3 separate regions of the Homo sapiens genome follow, and all the other regions are linked to region 1. Evidence: promoter capture Hi-C in 16 types of primary human blood cells and fetal thymus (Javierre and others, 2016). All regions are on one chromosome and are shown on one strand. The core of a region is centred on a gene start or on the middle of the fragment in contact, and the rest is flanking DNA. Distances in the headings are between cores, read along the strand shown. Region 1 holds the start of DLX2 (distal-less homeobox 2). Region 2 overlaps CIRSR (corepressor of RBPJ and splicing regulator). Region 3 holds the start of OLA1 (Obg like ATPase 1).

What was found. The method cuts DNA at HindIII sites, captures the fragments that hold promoters and counts their contacts. A CHiCAGO score of 5 or more calls a contact.
Region 2: a fragment that was not itself captured here is called in contact with the fragment with the promoter of DLX2 in region 1 in 1 of 17 cell types (total B cells); the score reaches 7.0 in total B cells.
Region 3: a contact is called between the fragment with the promoter of OLA1 here and the fragment with the promoter of DLX2 in region 1, in 1 of 17 cell types (total B cells). The highest score is 7.7, in total B cells.

The regions. Positions count from the first base shown.
Region 1 is chr2:172,101,305-172,104,514 of GRCh38, reverse strand. DLX2 (distal-less homeobox 2) reads left to right here and starts at 1,615. Exons shown (of 3, transcript NM_004405.4): 1 at 1,615-2,376; 2 at 2,869-3,053. The coding sequence starts at 1,977. DLX2-DT (DLX2 divergent transcript) reads right to left here and starts at 1,509. Exons shown (of 5, transcript NR_126376.1): 1 at 1,247-1,509; 2 at 483-577. RefSeq lists a silencer at 1,614-1,813. The HindIII fragment of the contact is 7,057 bases long and covers 1-3,199 here.
Region 2 is chr2:174,348,802-174,352,011 of GRCh38, reverse strand. CIRSR (corepressor of RBPJ and splicing regulator) reads left to right here. Exons shown (of 10, transcript NM_004882.4): 8 at 287-393; 9 at 1,267-1,352; 10 at 2,840-3,210. Among named protein-coding and RNA genes, the nearest start is that of SP9, 15 kb to the right of the region's middle. The HindIII fragment of the contact is 2,909 bases long and covers 207-3,115 here.
Region 3 is chr2:174,247,103-174,250,312 of GRCh38, reverse strand. It overlaps OLA1 (Obg like ATPase 1), which reads left to right and starts at 1,781. Exons shown (of 11, transcript NM_013341.5): 1 at 1,781-1,861. RefSeq lists a silencer at 1,476-1,995. The HindIII fragment of the contact is 2,463 bases long and covers 1,409-3,210 here.

The sequences.
Region 1 (3,210 bases), core at 366-2,865:
AAGAGGTTGGTTTTGCAGCTGAGGCCCACAAAGTAGGCAGAGAACCGCATAAAGCAATGCAGGTGGGTGGAGGTGAGCTCCACCTCCAACGTTTCTCATAAGCTGGCGCTTTCCATCTAGGGGCCTTCCTTAACCAAAAAAAAGCTGGGAACTAAATCCAGGTAGACTTAAAGGCGCATTACCTATCTCATTATTTCTCTGTGTGAATGCTGGAGTTTTAATTACACACTTGCTTTTTATGGGGAAGAAGACCAAAGATCATATTTTTGAAGGTATCAACTTGTTTTCTATCAGACAGTTGTTTTAACAAGTTCTTTCAGCGACATGTTATGTCTTTAGGAAAGGGTGCTTCAGATGGTGCGCACTAGCACAATTTTGTGGCTTTTAATTACTATTTTGTTCTTTTGGGGGGTTTCAGAGGCTGGCGCCTGGGCGTGATTAGACCGTCTACCCCGCCCCCCGCAACCTCGCACACTGCCCACCAGGTGGCGCCACAAAGCAAGCGCTGCCGCAGGAACTTCGGACTTGGGAGTCCAGCAAGTCGTGCAGTCCATCACCGTCGGGCCAAGGTTTCCAACTACAAGGTTATAGAGACAGAGGAAGTCACCATTTCCGATTTTTTAAAAAACAGAGGGAAAAGAAAAAAATTGCAATGATAGGGTAGAACAGGGTCCTAAAATGCAAAACTGTAAAACAGGATTAAATTCAACAAACCAGATAAAACTTTTTATATTTGTTGTAAATTTACAGAGAAGTGATAAATCTAGTATCTACTTGATAAATCTATAATCTCACCTATTATCCTATTTCCTTTTTCGCAAGAGCATCGAATTTTCAAGGACAACTGGTGAACCTTTCCACCCGAAGGAGGAAGTCCTCGGGATGGCTTTCAGGGTGTCATTTACTTATCAAACGTATATAATTACTCAGAGTCTCGCGTGTCGGGAAAGTACCAGGGAAAGTGGTTTCAAATATACTATTAGCAATAATACCTTTAAGTTTATGTAGCTTCTCTTTGAAGCAACAAGGAAAACCCGTTTCAATATTATATGATTAATTGTCCTAATATCCCTGCGGATTGGTTAAGAAGCGAGCATTACACGTGGTTTGTGGATAATTAAATCAATTGATTATGTCAAGTGCCGAGTGGCTAACAAGAATAAATGCCAGACACTTCGAGGAAAAGTGAAGATAGAGCTGGCTGGACTCTGGGCACCGATGTACTTTAATGTGTTTGAAAACTGACCTCGGACATGAAAGTACGAATCACTGGAACTGGCACTTGCTCACAGAATGGGAGAGGGGACCCCACTTCTTCCTCTGAGGCAAAACGCCAGTCTGTCTCCACGCCTTCTGTCTTCCTGCTGCGGGCCACCCTGACTCCTCGCTACCTCGACCCCTCGCCTCGCTGCTCACATTCGGCGGCAGTCTGTTTGCACCTGGGGCCGCTGCAGCCGCAGCCGCAGCCACAGCGCCCACCATGTGACGCCCGCCCCTTGGCCGGGCGTTCCCGGAGCTCCGCGGCCGTTTGCTTCTGATTGGCTGTTGCTAGGTGACGTCGCCAGCGCTCACGTGACGAGTGTTAAATGCCCACACTTCAGGAGCCCGCCTGGCAGACAATCGTAAAGCCGCTCGGGGCCGCTCACCTGCTCCCGCCTCCCAGAGCCCCGACCCGGCCCAGCCACCCCTGCCCCCTCCACTGCCCGCCCCCCGCCAGAGCCCGCGCTCGCGCTGGGCAAGGAGCCGAGCGGGCCCAGAGGCCGAAAGAGGATGCGACCAGAGGCAGCTGTCCCGAGCAGCGCACGGTGATCGCCTCCCCCGGAGGAGGAGGCGCCTAGACGGTTGCCTCCTTTCTTGTTTCCCCACCACCACCCCCGTAATTACATTGGCTGCTGGAGGGGACCGGGAGAGACAGAGGAGGCGCCTGGCTTCCCCCGCACGCCCGCCACCTCTGCTCTTTCCCGTCTCGGGCCAGGATGACTGGAGTCTTTGACAGTCTAGTGGCTGATATGCACTCGACCCAGATCGCCGCCTCCAGCACGTACCACCAGCACCAGCAGCCCCCGAGCGGCGGCGGCGCCGGCCCGGGTGGCAACAGCAGCAGCAGCAGCAGCCTCCACAAGCCCCAGGAGTCGCCCACCCTTCCGGTGTCCACCGCCACCGACAGCAGCTACTACACCAACCAGCAGCACCCGGCGGGCGGCGGCGGCGGCGGGGGCTCGCCCTACGCGCACATGGGTTCCTACCAGTACCAAGCCAGCGGCCTCAACAACGTCCCTTACTCCGCCAAGAGCAGCTATGACCTGGGCTACACCGCCGCCTACACCTCCTACGCTCCCTATGGAACCAGTTCGTCCCCAGCCAACAACGAGCCTGGTATGCATAACGCTGAAGTCAAGAGTGCCGAGTCGGTCTAGTTAATGGGATGGATGGGTAAACGTGTTTGGGGCGGGGGGCCTTCGAAAGCTCTGGATTTTCACGCTGCCTGCTCACCGCCCGCTTGTGCCCTTTACCCTCCCCAGCCTCCAATCTGCCGCAGGTCGCCGGTTACGTCCCTCTCTCCTTTGGTAGGACCTGGTGGCCTCAAGAGCCAAGTGGGCGTGCTCTGCCTGCCTCATAAGGGCATCTCCTTGCCACCAGCTTCTTTCTCTTGGGTGTGCACTTGTCTCCCCCTTCCCTGGAGGGTACAGCTCCCGGGGTCGGTGGCGGCTCCGATCGCACGCTGCGAAGTTGCGCCTGCCCGTGGCGCCACAGTTCAGTGCACCCACCTCTTTGCTCAAGCCAAGTCCCCCCCGCCGGGCCCTCTAGGAGGGCGGGAACTCCAGGACCCCTGGGTTGCGCTGTTCTTACGATTCTTTATCGTTGCAGAGAAGGAGGACCTTGAGCCTGAAATTCGGATAGTGAACGGGAAGCCAAAGAAAGTCCGGAAACCCCGCACCATCTACTCCAGTTTCCAGCTGGCGGCTCTTCAGCGGCGTTTCCAAAAGACTCAATACTTGGCCTTGCCGGAGCGAGCCGAGCTGGCGGCCTCTCTGGGCCTCACCCAGACTCAGGTGGGGCTCGCGCCCTGCAGGGGCGAGGAGAGCGCGGGCCTGAGATGGCTGGGAAGCAGGCGGGTTTAGGACAATGCTTTTTAAAGTTCATTTTAAGTACTTTTAAGGATTTCCAGGCCTGCGCCTCGAGCGGCCCTAAGTAAGCTTCTAGGCCCAA
Region 2 (3,210 bases), core at 412-2,911, 2.2 Mb before region 1:
ACTAAAAACTGCCAACCAGATAACATCTAAATGTATCTTTTTCAATATGACAAAGTTACATAAGAAGACTCCCCTTGCACGTAAAGAAAAATGCAATTATTTTCTATTCTGAATCTCCAGACTGCTGTTTTAGAAAATCATATCTGATTATTTGCTCAGCAGAAGATTATTGAGTTGATTTAGCTGTGATTTTACTTAACAAAGCTTCAACTGCATTCCTACTGTGGAGTCCGAAAAAGGTAGAGAGATATAAATGATACATTCAAACTGTGATTTTTGTGAACAGGGCCATCGATGCACCCCTCGGAGCTAATAGCGGAGATGAGAAACAGTGGGTTTGCACTGAAACGAAATGTACTGGGGAGAAACTTGACCGCAAATGATCCATCACAGGTAATGATCTTTTTATCAGTAAGCTGAAAATGTCTATAAATCTAAATGTGATTGCTTGTGAATTGCTACTTAATGTTTTCCAATATGCATATATCCATAGGAAAGTAAGATAGAGCAAAGAAAATGCCCAAAATGTGTTTTGATTTTGCTTTATTATTTTAATCTAAATGAGAAATTGTTTATAAACCTGTATTTTAATAAATGAAACTGCTCCTCTGAGTTTATGTGGATAAAATATCTAACTGAACTGGTGATGAGGTTGTTGGTTTTTCCTTCCTGCTAACTTACCCCTGATATGACATTAAATAGAACCAATGGTTAGAAGTATGTAAAAACTCCTAAAAATTGTAGAAAATATTTTAAACTTATTTATTTTATTAAACTATACATAGATCCAGAAAATGATTGAGTTTGAAGGGCTATATTATTATATATTTGATAATGTGCTGTTGAAATTATAATAAAAGCTAAAATTGTGGATATTTTGACATTCCTGTAAAACTCATAATCTTCTTTTTTATATTTCATTAAATTAAAAATAAAGTATTTAAACTGGCAAGAGTTAACATTCAAGAGATAGAGAATGGAAGTCATGCTCTAAACATTTTATCTGTGTGTGTCTATCATCCTTTTCCTGGAAAAGTTTCCTAATGCTGGCAAAGCAGTCATGTTAACCTCTTAGTGCTGTATGATCCACTTCGGCAGGGAGACTACAAAAAAATTTTTTAATTCTCTCCCACTTCCCAATCCAAAATATCATATTCATCTACAGTGTGTCCCTGATACAAAACTTATTTATAAATGTTTTCTTTTTTATCTACTAACTACCTTGTGTTGAAATCTAGCAATTTAATGATATCTTTGTTGACTCAGGAGTATGTTGCAAGTGAGGGTGAAGAAGATCCAGAAGTTGAATTTTTAAAGTCACTAACAACCAAACAAAAACAGAAACTTCTCAGGTAATTTAGAAGTATATATTTAATAGATTTATTTTTTCCTTAGTATTCATCTCAGTATCGTATTCAACTCTGATCCTAAGAGCTCATGAAGGTCCTTATACCATGCATCACATTTATTGATTATTCTTCACCCATAGCTAATACAATTTTGTCTGTCTTTTCAGTAACATGGAAATGAGTGTAAGATTGTATACTCAGATTGTACCACAAAACGATTGCACTTTTCAGAATGTTTAATTTAGAATTAGACTTATTTATAGCTTTTACTTTTCAAAATAGATTTGTGTGTATCTTCGCACACAATTTGTTCTTAGGAAACATTTTTGGCCATTTTTAAAATGTTTTGTAAAATTTTATGAGAATGCAGAAAGAATGCTTAAATTTAAGGTAAACGTGAATTTTGTTAAACAGACTACCTCTGAATTAAAAGAATCCAAGAAATGTCTGCTGGGTCCAATAGAGGGAGCTCATGATGCTTTCAGTATGTAGAGTTTTGAGAATGGCTAGACAGAACCTAGAGACTTATTTTCAGAGTAACTCAAACATACCATATAAACAAGTTACTCCTCCAAGAATGTGAAGTACTCTAGAAATTCAGAATGTTTTAATAGGATTGTCCTATTTATAAAACTAAACAATTGTTGAAAACAAGTATTAACTATATTATTTTATAAAACCAATATTTCAGAAGTTTAATGTGTACTCTTACTCAGAATTTCTGGAGAATATTCTCTTGAATTTTGATAACGTTGATTAATATTTATATACTATAAAATAGTACATAAAATTAATTTTTCATCTGATTATAGCTATATATTTGCTTTTTTAGTAGTTCCAACTGATGTTACACACCTTTCACAGGCTTTCTTTAGGATGACCCTTTAGAGTGCTATATAATTTCAACTCAGTAAGAATTTAACAAAAAAGTAGTCATTACTATTGAAGTATAGTCAGAAAATTGGCTTGATGCATTTAATTTTTTAATTTAATGTATTCACGCTTTGAATAATTTTAAAGGAAGAAAATGAGTTGTCATTTAGTAAACAATGCGTTCATATATGGATACCAGTTCTTTTTTTTTTTTTTTTTTTTTTTAAGACAGAGTCTCACTCTTTTGCCCAAGCTGGAGTGCAGTGGCATGATTTTGACTCACTGCAACCTCCGCCTCCCGGGTTCAAGCGATTCTTCTGCCTCAGCCTCCTGAGTAGCTGGGATTACAGGCAGGTGCCACCATGCCCAGCTAATTTTTGTATTTTTACTAGAGATGGGGTTTCACCATGTTGGTCAGGCTGGTCTCGAACTCCTGACCTTGTGATCCGCCCGCCGTGGCCTCCCAAAGTGCTGGGATTACAGGTATGAGCCAGCGCGCTCTGCCATGGATACTATTTTTAATAACTTCTAAGAAAATATATTGTTTGTTCATAACTTACAGTTGATGAAATAACTGTTTTTCACACAGTCTGTTACTGTTTATTTCCCAATTACAGGAAATTAGATCGACTGGAGAAGAAAAAAAAGAAAAAAGATAGAAAAAAGAAAAAGTTTCAGAAGAGCAGAAGTAAACACAAAAAACATAAGTCCTCTTCTTCCTCATCTTCCTCCTCCTCCTCCTCTTCCTCTACTGAGACTTCAGAAAGCAGTAGTGAGAGTGAGAGTAACAATAAAGAAAAAAAAATACAAAGGAAGAAAAGAAAGAAAAACAAGTGTTCAGGGCATAACAACAGTGATTCTGAAGAGAAGGACAAGTCTAAGAAGAGAAAGCTTCATGAAGAACTTTCTAGCAGTCACCATAACCGGGAAAAAGCCAAGGAAAAGCCCAGGTTCTTAAAACACGAGAGTTCTAGGGAGGACAGCAAAT
Region 3 (3,210 bases), core at 532-3,031, 2.1 Mb before region 1:
CATGGTGAAACCCCGTCTCTACTAAAAATACAAAAATTAGCTGGGTGTGGTGGTGTGCACCTGTAATTCCAGCTACTTAGGAGGCTAAGGCAGGAGAATTGCTTGAACTCGGGAGGCGGAGGTTGCCGTGAGCCCAGATCACGCCACTGCACTCCAGCCTGGGCGACAGAGTGAGACTCCATCTCAAAAAATAAAAATGAATTCTCGCTGAAAGGAAACAGATTTTTCAGATAGTTTTAGTTTTACTTTTTATTTGTATTTATTTTGTTAGAGATAAGGTCTTGCTCTACACCCAGGCTAGAGTGCTGCGGCAGTGATCATAGCTCACTGCAACCTTGAGCTCTCAGGCTCAAGCCATCCTCTCACCTCAGCCTCCTGAGTAGCTGGGACTACAGGTATGTGCCACTACACCCAGCTAATTTTTGTTTTTTGGTAGAGATGGGGTCTCACCACGTTGTCCAGGCTGTTCTCCAACTCCTAGGCTCAACTGATCCCCCTATCTTGGCCTCCCAAAGTGCTGGGATTACGGCCAGATTTTCAGTTAGATTGTGGTTTGAAATATGCTGCTGCCATTTACTAGTTGTGTGACTTCATCCAAATTAATCAACCTTTCTGATATTGTTTCCTCACTTGTAAAATGGGGATGGCGACCTATTTACATCCTTTAATATTAATAGCAACTAATCCCTTTAAAAGGAGCTTCTAGTGTCACAATTTTTGGACAGGTATCATATTCATTACAACAAATACCTGAATGACATCTGAAGGCCAGGACCTAAATGAAAGAATTCCTTCTCCAGTGGCGCTCATGGTATTGATATGATGTGGGTGAGATGGGATGAAATCCTAATATTAACAACAGCGACTACTCACAAGCCTTTTCTGTATGTGCTGAGTACTGTTGTTATGAGCTCAACACGCATTGTCTCATTTTATTCTCACACGAATAACCTCATAAGGTGGTTTTAATAGCCTCATTTTATCCAGAACGAAATTGAAGTCCAGAGAAGTTAATTTGTCTAGGGTCATACAGTCAATGAGTGGCGAAATCCAGATTGGAAATTCCCAAATTTCAAAGGCCCCTGCTCTCAACTACCAAGAGGAAAAGGGGGGAAATTGGCTCAATTAAACGCATTCTGTGATCCAGTACCTGTGTGCGACGCTTTAACTATAAGGCGAGGAAGAAATCCCTAGACCAAAGTTTCCCTTAGCCCCTTTTCCTTCAAGAACTTTTAGTTAACAGCTTCTCTCCGCACAGACTGAGCGAATAAAGTTATAGAAAAGGGAGATGGGCTAGCGGCCACGCGGTCCTCGGGGCTGGTGTGGCTGTTTGCCTGACTTCAGACGCCCCGGATCTCCCGGAGGGAAGTCAGGGCCCAAGGCACTCCGCAGTCCAGCTGGGAAAGCTTGGGGCTGTAGGCCCGCGAGTGAACGTGAGCAGGTAACCCAGGCCGCGCAGCCAGACGGAAGCGGAGACCTAGAACCGAGAAGCCCACGTGCCGAAGCGGAAGACTAGAGCTCCCGGGAACGGCCTAGCCAGCGCCTTCCCCTCTCCAGCTCCCTGCCGCCGCGCGGCTCCTCCCACCCTGGGCTCCTCCCGCCCTACTCCCGCCTCCCCGGCCGGTTAGGCCAATGGGCGGGACGCGCGGGCAAGGCGGGGAGGGGCGGGGCCCATGGTCTGCGCGCAGGTGCCGCTCGGCGCCCGGCCCGCCCGTTCCGCCGCTGTCGCCGCCGTCGTGCGTGCCGCTCGGCGGAGGGGACGGGCCTGCGTTCTCTCCTCCTTCCTCCCCGCCTCCAGCTGCCGGCAGGACCTTTCTCTCGCTGCCGCTGGGACCCCGTGTCATCGCCCAGGCCGAGCACGGTGAGGCCCTCAGGGAGCCCGGGGGCGCGATCTCCGCCAGGTCTTCGGCGCCTGGGCTCATTGCCCTGAGGCTGGCGCGGGGCCCGGGCCCAGTGGCCAAGATGGGGCCAGGGCAGCGGGTGGCTTGGGGATGTGTGGATGAATGAGGCGCTGTCGGACTAGGCCGCGCGTCGGGAGATCGGCCTACGCCTCACGCGGGAAAGCCCTGGGGAAAGCCTTCTCCCGACGCCAGGACGCCCGGTGGCCCAGTCCGGAGAGGAGGATGGGGGGTGGGGCCCACTTTGGGTGGGCTGCCGGCCACCTCTCTGTAGGCCAGAGGACCCGACAGGCGCTGTTCCTGTATCTGTTCTTTGGAGGCCTGGGAGTTGGCCAGGAACAGGTGTCAGGACGCTGAGAAGGGAAATTCCTGGCCCTCGGGGTCAGGGATCAGAGGCTGGAATACTACTGCAAGGGCAGGGCCCCAGCGTGGTCCTAGGAGGTACAACTCTCAGCCAGAAGACTGGGACAGTTTTAGTTCCCAGCTTCTGAGACGTGAGCTTAGCGGTCTTTGTGATTTCACTTTGCAGTCCAAGGGTGGGAGTAATTCTGCACGCATGATTTGGAGACAGAACTAGTAAGGGACAGAGAAAGTTTCGACTTGTAAATAAAAAGGTTCCGTCGATTAATTTACCATTAGAAATAGTAACCATAATGTAGATTTTGGAGGTTGCTTATGAGGACTGATGAGCCGTACCTTCAGTGCCAAAGGTGGGAGGGACTTGGTGGAAGGACCCCAGTACCTGGTGGGTGTTCATCTATGTGAAAAATGGGGGTTGTGGGCGAATGGGAAAGATAAGATTCCAGATTATAGAGGAATGGTTTGGTGTGAAGGGTGACTTGGCTGCTGGTGGTTCCACAATGGAATTTTCTTTGACTGTCTTCTGTGTACTTGCTTCCAAATGCTTTCTTTCATATAACCATATATCAGGTTAAGATATAAAGTGTTTTGTGAGCAGTCTGGATGGAAGATTGGTAGCTAAACTCTAAGTTTATCTTTGATTCCTGGTGCCACAAATATTTTATTTATTTATTTATTTATTTAAGACAGAGCCTAGCTTTGTCGCTCAGGCAGAGCCCAGTGGCGTGATCTTGGCGCACCGCAACCTTCGCCTCCCGAGTTCAAGCAGTTCTCGAGCCTCAGCCTCCCGAGTAGCTGGAATTACAGGCTGCGCGCCTGATGGCCGGCTAATTTTTTTGTATTTGTTTTTCTTTTTAGTAGAGACGGGGTTTCTCCGTGTTGGCCAGGCTGGTCTCGACTCCTGGTCTCAAGCAGTCTGCCCACCTCGGCCTCCCCCTCCCAAAGTGCTGGG